2 separate regions of the Homo sapiens genome follow, and region 1 is linked to region 2. Evidence: promoter capture Hi-C in human tissues and cell types (Jung and others, 2019). All regions are on one chromosome and are shown on one strand. Each heading gives the region's core, a stretch centred on a gene start or on the middle of the fragment in contact. The rest is flanking DNA. Distances are from core to core; before and after follow the strand shown. Region 1 overlaps TSPAN15 (tetraspanin 15). Region 2 holds the start of SRGN (serglycin).

Region 1 (4,899 bases), core at 432-2,931, 400 kb after region 2:
TTCAAAAGGGGAGGGGGTGCAAGAACAGGGAGTAGGTCACAAAGATCACATGCTTCAAAGGGCAAAAAGGAAAACAAAGATCACATGCTTCTAAGGGAAAAATCAGAAACTCCTCATAAGGGTCCAACAAAGATCACAAGGCAAAGGGCAAAAGCAAAGATCACAAGGCAAAGGGCAAAAGCAGAATTACTGATAAGGGTCTACCTTCAGTGGTGCACATATTGTCTTGATAAACATCTTAAACAACAGAAAACAGGGTTCGAGAGCAGAGAACCAGTCTGAACTCAAATTTACCAGGGTGGAGTTTCCCAATCCTGAGGGTACTGCAGGAGACCAGGGTGTATTTCAGTCCTTATCTCAACTGCATAAGAGAGACACTCCCAGAGCGGCCGTTTATAGACCTCCCCCTAGGAATGCAGTTCTTTTCCCAGAGTGTTAATATCAATATTCCTTGCTAGGAAAAGAATTTAGCGATATCTTCCCTACTTGCATGTCCGTTTATAGGCTGTCTGCAAGAAGAAAAATATGGCTCTTTTTGCCCAACCCCGCAGGCAGTCAGACCTTATGGTTGTCTTCCCTTGTTCCCTGAAAATCGCTGTTATTCTGTTCTTTTTCAAGGTGCACTGATTTCATATTGTTCAAACACACATGTTTTAAAATCAACTTGTACAGTTAACACAATTATCGTAGTGGCCGTAAGGTGACATACATCCCCAGCTTACGAAGATAACAGGATTAAGAGATTAAAGTAAGACAGGTGTAAGAAATTATGAAGTATTATTTGGGAACTGGTAAATGTCCATGAAATCGTCACAATTTATGTTCCTCTGCTGTGGCTGCAGCTGGTCCCTCCATTTGGGGTCCCTGACTTCCCGCAACAATTAGGCTAAGGATTACATGTTGGGTTCTCAGCGAGGTGCACAGACCACGGCCACAGCCAGGCATTGAAAGCTAAACAGACTCCTGGATATAAGGAGGAAACTCCCCCTGGCTCTGACCCCAGGCAAGATTTCTGCTGCTAGGCATGGCCTGACAGTCGGACTGGTGCCGCTTCTCCACTCATAGAGGGGCAAGTGGCCATGCACTGGGGAGCTGGGCACAGAGCAGCCCTTAGGAGCAGGAGAAGTACGACACCCCTGACCCCAGCCAGGGGCTGGAGGAGGACCTGAGTGACTTCCCCAGTTGTGTGGGTCTCAACCCTCTTGACACCTGCTTTTGTCCCAGCTTGTTCTGGGGCTTCTTGTGAGGGTGTCAGGTGTCAGAGGTGGGCAGCTCCTCATGCTTCCAGCCAGGTGCAGCTGAGCTTGGACACCTGGAGGGTCCGGGCAGTAGCGGGTGTGTCTATACCCCCATCCCAGGCCTCCTCTCTCTACCACCAGGGTAGGATCAGTGGGCATTGTGGTCCTACCTGACACTGTGGTCAGGGAACAGTGGGGAGCACCAGCCTGCCTATTTTATCATGGCACTGGCACAAGCTGGCTCTGGGCACAACCTTGAGGTCAGAGGCAGGAGAAAGTAGGCAGCACCATGGCTCTCTCGGCCAACACCTGAATATATAAAGTTTTCCCTTGGTGTCCGACGGGGATTGGTTCCAGAACATGCCCCTGACCAAAGGATACCCAAATCCACACATGCTCAAGTCCTTTATATAAAATGGTGTAGTACTTGAATATAACCTACACACATCCTCCTGTAAATTGCAACACTCCTAGATTACTTGCAAATACCTAATACAGGGCCAGGTGCGGTGGCTCATGCTTGTAATCCCAGCACTTTGGGAGGCCAAGGCAGGTGGATCATTTGAGGTCAGGAGTTTGAGAACAGCCTGGCCAACACAGTGAAATCCTGTCTCTAGTAAAAATACAAAAAGTAGCTAGGCGTGGTAGTGGGCATCTGTAATCCCAGCTACTAGGGAGGCTGAGGCAGGAGAATTGCTTCAACCCAGGAGGCAGAGGCTGCAGTGAGCCATGATCGTGCTACTGCACTCCATCCAGCCTGGGTGACAGAGCAAGATTCTGTCTCAAACAAAACAAAACAAAACAAAAAACCCAGATACCTAATACATTGTAAATGCTGTGTAGATAGTTGTTTATGCTGTATTGTTCTTTAGTTTGTATCATTTTTTACTGTTGTGTTATTTTTTATTGTTCCTTTTCCCAAATATTTTCCATCCACTGTTGTTTGAATCTGCGGGTACGGAACCCGTGGATGTGGAGGGCCGGCTGTGTATCCTTCCCACTTACAGCAGAGCGGTCGGCCTTACAGAAGTAGAGAGTGCTTCTCGCTGGTTTGGCCAGACTCCCCCACGGGTGTGCCCCACTGTGGAAAGCTGTCAGGGAGTGAGGCTGGAGCCCCCAGTCCCAAGGACACTGAAACATAACCCTCTCCCACCATGGAGATGAACCTGTGACCCTGGCCAGGTCTGAGGAAGGGTCTGGCAGATGCTCACTCCACACGCCCCTTCCCACCTTCTCCTGGTCCCCTGGGTTCTCTTCCATTCCTGATTGTCACATTGGGCTTCTATTGGGACTGGAGCAGAGGCTAGGGTCCGGGGGCAATGAGGGTAAGTCCCCGTTCTAGAGGGACTGGGAAAGGCTGAGATGATGGCTTGGCTCCAGGCGCAAATGAAGGAGGAAAATCCTGGGCCAAGCACCTCTCCTCCAAGTTTTTGTTTTGTTTTTGAGACAGTCTTGCTCTGTCACCCAGGCCGGAGTGCAGTGGTGCAATCACAGCTCATTGCAGCCTCAGCTCCTAGGCTCAAGCGATCCTCCCACCTTAGCCTCCTGAGTAGTTGGGACTACAGGTGCATGCCACCATGCCTGGATAATTGTGTGTGTTTGTGTGTAGATGAGGTCAAGCCATGTTGCCCAGGTTGGTCTCGAACTCCTGGACTCAAGTAATCCTCCTGCCTTGGCATCCCAAAGTACTGGGATTATAGGCAGGGACCACCATGACCAGCTTCTCCTCCAAGTTTGAGAGCTAGGCCTGCACTAGGCCAGCAGCAGGGCCTTCCCAGCCTCAGGTCTCAGGCTTACATGGAAGTGGTGTTAGCCAGAGGCAGCCTGAGGGAGCCCCGGGCCACTCCTTCCCCAGAGAGGTTCTTGGTCCTGTGCAGGCAGCTGGCCTGGTAGGAAGCTTTAGCGGCCGCCCCTTCCACTCCTTTTCCTACCCCTCTGTCCTCTGTGTTGGAGGAGCTGCCGCCACATGCCTCACCCCCTTCAGTTCCTCATTCATTTAAAAACCCTGAGAGAGGGGTGATGTGGAGGCTTCAGATAAAAACTAGATTTAAAAGGCAAAGCTAGAAAGGATAGTTCTTCATAGCTTTCTCTGGTGCTTTAAACAACATGCTTTCAAACCTTGTGGCTTTTGATGTTTGCTTACTCTTTGCTTAATTTAGCCTGGTTTTCTAGTCCTCACTGGAGCTGCCCCTGCTGGCATGGCCTGGTTTGGAGGGGAATGGGGTGGGGGCAGTGGCACTGGGTATGTTGGGCATCTGGGAATGGCAGAGGAAGCTAGAATTCTCTCTTCCCTGTCCTCTGAGTGGCTCCCCTGGTCTCTCGGAACATTACCAGTGCTGTCAACGGCGGCATAGCACTTTACAGTTAAACTGCACAGCCAGCTTGCCTCACGGGATCTTCTCACACACACCCACCCCCAACCATCGCCCCTCACAGCACAGGAACCATCTCAGTGTCCTCGTCTCCCCGGTACACATACACACGTGCACACACATACAAGTGGTGCACACTTGCAAGAACCAGCATGCCTCAAAGAGCTCCCTGATGGGGGTTGGGGGCAGCTGCTGTCCATGAAGCCCAGGGACATCTGTTGCTCCTGCAGGGCCCCCCTTCCCCCAACAACAGGGCTCAGCTTACCAGATGAAAGGCCGAATTTTTCCAGGCCCCTCTCGAAGCCCGAGCCTTGGAAAGTGCCCAGGAGGCGGGATGGTTTGGGGAGGCGGGATGGTTTGGGGAGGCAGGCTGGGGCTGCTCACCAGAGAGGCAGAGCCTTTCCCCACAGCCACAGAGCAGCCTCTACTCTGCCACTTCCCCTCCTTCCTGCCCTGGGCTTCCCACCTTCATCCCACCCTGTTGGCAGCCCTGGGAGAGTCCAAACAGCACAGTGGCCAGTGGGGGTGCTGTAAGTGGGCCAGTGGGCCCGGGTAGGTGCAGAGGGACATGGTGGGCCAGGACTGTGTCTGTGGTGCCTTGAGAGTAGGGGGAAGCCACCCGGGAGGAACCTCCCCACGTGTGGCCTTAGGCAAGGCCCTGACCCTGGCGGCACCCCATGAGTACGTAGCTCAGCCAATCATGTCGTTCAGTGCTGTAAGCTCATTCCCCTGCCCCACCCTGGGTGGCAGACTGGCCCCACCCTGGTATCCTGTTTTTTAGGCACCCCCAACCACACCCCAGCCAGCTGGCCTGTCCCTTCATCACCCAGAGGAGCAGGCACCCAAGGATGGAAAAGCTTTGTGACCTGGGGGCCTCTGGGAGGTGGGCCTGGGGCCAAGAGAGTCCTTGTTCTGCCCAGGCTGCTCGGCTGGAAGGCAATGCTCCCACCCAACTTCTGCCCCGGGGGCCAGTGCCAGGTCCGCGAAGGGCCATGGGCTGGTGAGTTGACAGCTGCTCACAGGAGCCTGCATCTCCTCTCTTCTCTTGGGGCTGACTCCAGTCTTCTGCAATCCCAGGCCTGCTCCAGAGCTGCTGTTTATCATCAGCAGAGGACTTTCCTTCTGGCCACGAAGGCCAGTTTCTCCGAGCCCATCTCCTTTTTTTTTTTTTTTTTTTTGAGACAGAGTCTTGCTCTGTCACCCAGTCTAGAGTGCAGTGGTGCCATCTCGGCTCACTGCAACCTCTGCCTCCCAGGTTCAAGCGATTCTCCTGCCTCAGCCTCCCGAGT
Region 2 (5,350 bases), core at 1,948-4,447:
CCATCATGTCCAGATAATTTTTTTGTATTTTTAGTAGAGACAGGGTTTCACCATGTTATCCAGGCTAGTCTCAAACTCCTGACCTTAGGTGAGTGATCCGCCCACCTTGGCCTCCCAAAGTGCTGGTGTGAGCCACCCTGCCCTGCCGGCGACCCGTCACTTTATTAAACAACAGGAACTGATTTCTGTCATGTTCCAGGTGACTGTTAAGGAATAAGAATACTCATTTTATGGGCAAATAAACTGAATGTGAAGTAAAGTAGGTGCATCTCAGGTTGCCTGGTGAAAGAAGGATTAAGTCTGGTATAGGGTTTGTCTTTTAAAATTGTGGAAAACATGCATATCGTAGATTGACTTTTAGGGAAAGATGTGGGTCCTATTGGGTTAATGGCGGAATCTTTTGGTAAGATCATGCCCAGCCCTGAGGACTGTTGCCAATGCCTCCCTCACCACGTGTGCCATGTGCTCTTGAGGACATCCTGTCATTGGCTTCCCACACCATCATTACATCTGGAACAAAGGACGCATAAAAAGTGAGTGGCCCAGCGTGGCTCAGCTGGTAAGTGAAGGGCATGGGCTTGGACCCAGGACTTCCAGCTGCTGCAGCATGTGTCCTGCTCCCCTACAGCTTGAAGAGGGCTAAATGAGACTGGAGGACTTCTTAGAAAAAGAGACTTGATTATCAGCGTAGTGGGAGAAGAGCAAATGCTTATGAATACTGCACCTGTGCTTTAAAAGTCACCATGAGCTGGGCGTTGTGGCTTACGTCTGTAATCCCAGCACTTTGGGAGGCCGAGACAGGTGGATCACTTGAGGTCAGGAGTTCGAGGGCAGCTTGGCCAACATGACAAAAACCCCATCTGTACTAAAAAAAAGAAAAGAAAAGAAAAGAAAAGAAAGAAAGAAAAAAAATTAGTCAAATGCGTTTGCTTGAACCCAGGAGGTGGAGGTACACCCTGGGCGACAGAGAGAGAGAGGTAAAAAACAACAACAACACCATGACCCAGAGAAAGAAAGAAAAAAAATGAAGTTCCCAAATGGAAAAAGCCCCTAAAATTACCATTTTAAAACACAGCCCTAATCAGCTCTGGGGATTTGCAGGAAACTCATCGAAGCTATTGATAGGAACTATTGTTTTGGTGCCAGGGTTTTCAATTGGGAGTTAGATTTAAAAGGACCAAAGATGACATCTGATATTTCAAACAGAAACCGACATTTCTCAGTGGAAAACTTTCCGGGCCAGTGCATTTTGGGGTTGGTTACTGTGCTTGGAGACGCCCCTGAGTTGGAGGACACACTTCTGGCTGATGTGAGGGGCTTCTGAGGAGGGCCAAAATGTACACTCTTTGTGTTCTTGCACCACGGCTATTAGACTGTGAGACTCTGTCCTTAGCAGGAAATGGTAAAGGAATCAGCAGGAAGCCTAAAACAAGGGAAGGGAAACTCCTCCCTCCTATCAAAGGCCAGGCAAGGGCGAGGATGAGAATGGAAAGTGGGGCACGTGCATTAAGCCGTCTGGGGGAGCGGTAGGGATAGACATGTTGAAATGGAGAGTGGTTGAATCTTGAAAGGAAGTAAGGAAAATGTATATGCCACAAGGGCAAGGATGTATGATAGGCTTGTATTTATTGTATAACTTTATTTTATTTTATTTTATTATTTTTAGTTTTTTGAAATAGAGTCTCTCTCTGTCACCCAGGCTGGAGTGCAATGGCACGATCTTGGCTCACTGCAACCTCTGCCTCCCGGGTTCAAGCGATTCTCCTACCCCAGCCTCCCGAGTAGCTGGGACTACAGGCACTCGCCACCACGCCCGGCTAATTTTTTGTATTTTTAGTGGAGACGGGGTTTCACGGTGTTAGCCAGGATGGTCTCGATCTCCTGACCTTGTGATCCACCCACCTCAGCCTCCCAAAGTGCTGGGATTACAGGTGTGGACCACAGCACCTGGCCTTTATTGTATAACTTTAATATGGAGCCTTAGTCCTCCAGAAATCTGCACCATGCCCAGGGAAAATGCTGTTCCTTTATTTACATGAGGCAGAGGTTTGTGTTGTTTGCTGAGGTCCAGCAGCTCACTGTGAGGACAACCTCTCCCTCGTTCCTGATTTCTGGCTTATTCAAGGCCAGAGGACCCAAAACTCGAGTTGAAAATTTTGACTAGGAGAACAGATAAAAATAGAAATGGAATCCATCTTAAGAAATGCTCAATGTGAAGGAGAGGGGAATGCAAAATAGTTTTTCTGTTTTACCACAGTCTTTGTAACTGAAAATCCTATGTTCTTGAGATAGAGAGAGAGCCAATGATCCAATGCAAGAAACTGAGTTTAAGAAGAAACTGTTTGCTGGGCACGGTGGCTCACGCCTGTAATCCCAGCACTTTGGGAGGCTGAGGCAGGCGGATGGCCTGAGGTTGGGAGTTTGAGGCCAGCCTGGCCAACATGGTGACACGTCGTCTCTACTAAAAATACAAAATTAGTCCAGCGCAGTGGTGTACGCCTGTAATCCCAGCTACTCAGGAGGCTGAGGCAGGAGAATTGCTTGAACCCTGGAGATGGAGGTTGCAGTGAGCTGAGATCGCGCCACTGCTCTCCAGCCTGGGTGACAGAGTGAGACTCCATCTCAAAAAAAAAAAAAAAAAAAAAAAAAAGAAGAAAAAGAAGAAGAAGAAACTGTTCATCTGAAATCCGACAACTCATTCTTGAAGGTTAGAGCTCAGCTTTGAAGTTTCACTTCACGAGCTTGGCTCAGTGAGGTATGTTACTCCCCGGTGAAAAAGAAAATGAAGAGAATGTTTTATGTTGAAAGTGCTTGGTGACGAAAAGGCAGCACCTAGATCCCTTATCTCATAAAAAATGCAGCAGATTCTTAATATTAGCAATCTAGTGTTTAGATTGTTACCTGAAGAAAGGAAAAACAAACTGTCCCAAATGCTGATTCTACTGTTTCGGTGGGAAAAAAAAATGTCTTGCAGGCAAGTGGCAAACAACAAAACTTTTGAAAAAGCAGGCCTGGGGGGAGTCCAGTACAGTTTCATAATGGGTATGAATAGTTATTTTACTGTGTTCCCCCCACCCCCTTTCTTTCTGGGTTTTGATGTGGATGTCTTTCTATTTGTTCAGGAAATTGTGACGTGTGTTCTGGGCAGGGTTTGAGGTTTTGGAACATTTTCTAAAAGGGACAGAGAGCACCCTGCTACATTTCCTAATCAAGAAGTTGGCGTGCAGCTGGGAGAGCTAGACTAAGTTGGTCATGATGCAGAAGCTACTCAAATGCAGTCGGCTTGTCCTGGCTCTTGCCCTCATCCTGGTTCTGGAATCCTCAGTTCAAGGTAAGACTCAGGAGTCTTGTTCCCCAGCCATCTTCTCTGTAAGCCCTGTGGTCCATGCAAGTCATTATATTCATTTTAAGGCATAGAATGTATAATATTGTGAGAAAGGAGGCAAAGAAGAAGGATTTGGGGTCGCTGAACCCTTTAATATGAGTTCTGTTAAGTTTGGTACCAAGAAAAATTAAACTCTGTGGCGTGTGCAGTCTTGTAAACTCTTACAATGATTGAAATGTGCTATTTTGGGATGAAAATGTGAGGTTTATAAATTTTAAAAGCTCAAAAAAGGAATCTAGAAAATGACTCCTGTGCCTGTTGCATGGAGGAGATGGCACCTTTGACTGTTGGGGGGTGTCTGCCTACCCCTAAGTGTCTACATCAGCCCCAAGTTTTAGTGCGCTGTGACGGTGTCATTGTTATTTTAACACTGGGAGACGTTATATTCCAATTGGGGTGAATCTGACTGTGTGTATTTTCTTTTCTTTTTTTTTTTTTTAAAGATAAACTTGGTTCTTACTGAAAACTCAATTATGGTTAGACATAGTTCATGTAAAACCTCTCAGATTTTAAAGAGAAGGCCAAATAATTTGGTATTTGTGCTCTTGCTCAGAGAAGCATCATATTCGGAAATATCTTCCTAGGTTTATCTACCATTTAGTGTTGTTTAGTCAGACTGAAACAACTTAAAACCTGTAATGACTAAGACAATGAAAATGATAGGCTTGTAAGAAAAATACAATTTGTTATTCTTTGGCAAATAAGGAATCATGTCTAAATAAGACGGAGGTCATGGCTTGATAGAGAGATGGCTGAACCTATAGTAGAAAAACACTAGGTTCCGCCAAATGGTAAGGGAAATGTTGAGTCACAATGACACACATGTCCTAGATTTGTTTCGTCAAAGCGACTTTTGGTTGTCATGATCTTACTTCCGGTGGAGATGAAATCTTACAGATGATCGCAGAGACATTCATTTTATGTTGGAAATTTATAAAATCATTTTCTTCTAGTTATGCTAATGCTGAAAAAAGAGCAAGTAATGTTTCTGGAACGTTATTAATTTATGTATTTTTAAAATATAAAACATTGTCAATTGTAGGGAACAGGCTTCACTGGGATCTTTTAGGGAATATCTTCAGCTTGATGAAATAATTCCCGAATAGCCAAGTGGTCTGACAAGATCGAGAGTAATGAGGCCCATACTTTAGTACAGTCTTGAATGGCCAGATGGTGCTGGGCATACCCCAACCAGAGATATGTAAGTCTTTATGTTGTCAAAATTTCCCAGAAACATGAATTTCCCACTAAGATTCATTAAGGAAAACTAGAATGAAAACAAAAACGTTCCTTGTATAATATTCATTAGAAAGAAATGAAGAAGGCCGGGCATGGTGGCTCACGCCTGTAATCCCAGCACTTTGAGAGGCCAAGGTAGGCAGATCATGAGGTCAGGAGTTTGAGACCAGCCTGGCCAACATAGTGAAATCCCGTCTCTACCAAAAATACAAAAAAATTAGCCGGGCATGGTGGCACACACCTGTCATCCCAGCTACTCAGGAGGCTGAGGCAGGAGAATTGCTTGAACCTGGGAGGTGGAGGTTGCAGTGAGCTGAGATTGCACCACTGTACTACAGCCTAGGTGACAGTGCAAGACTCTGTCAGAAAGAAAGAAAGAGAGAGAGAGAGAAAGAAAGGAAAGAAAGAAAGAGAAGGAAAGAAAATAATTCATCATGAAATTGTATAGAATACTAGCATTTATGTCATGACCTCGTAGGTTTAGCTCTTTGTTAGAAAAGGAAACCATAGAAAGAGACAAGGGAGAAACTGACAAACTAGGGTGTTTCCGAAAAAAGGCTCTCAGTATCGGGCTCAAGGGCTTGTGCCCACATCTGAGCATGCAGGGAAATAGATGTCCCCCACTGGCTGCACATGTGAGTGACTGCGGCACAAGGCTGTGATGTGAAGAGTCGTGACACCATTTCCTCACACCTCCACGCAATGCCAGATATGATTCGACAACAT

What was found. Contacts are between HindIII fragments. The study calls those that stand out against the background at their distance.
Region 1: a contact is called between a fragment that was not itself captured here and the fragment with the promoter of SRGN in region 2, in 1 of the 25 tissues and cell types used here (liver).

Annotation. Positions count from the first base shown.
Region 1 is chr10:69,488,703-69,493,601 of GRCh38, forward strand. All of the region lies in intron 3 of TSPAN15 (tetraspanin 15), which reads left to right. Among named protein-coding and RNA genes, the nearest start is that of TSPAN15, 40 kb to the left of the region's middle. RefSeq lists a silencer at 257-457. The HindIII fragment of the contact is 4,239 bases long and covers 1-3,801 here.
Region 2 is chr10:69,084,906-69,090,255 of GRCh38, forward strand. It overlaps SRGN (serglycin), which reads left to right and starts at 3,198. Exons shown (of 3, transcript NM_002727.4): 1 at 3,198-3,331. The coding sequence starts at 3,253. RefSeq lists enhancers at 1,512-1,681, 3,329-4,528 and a silencer at 5,227-5,350. The HindIII fragment of the contact is 28,080 bases long and covers 1-5,350 here.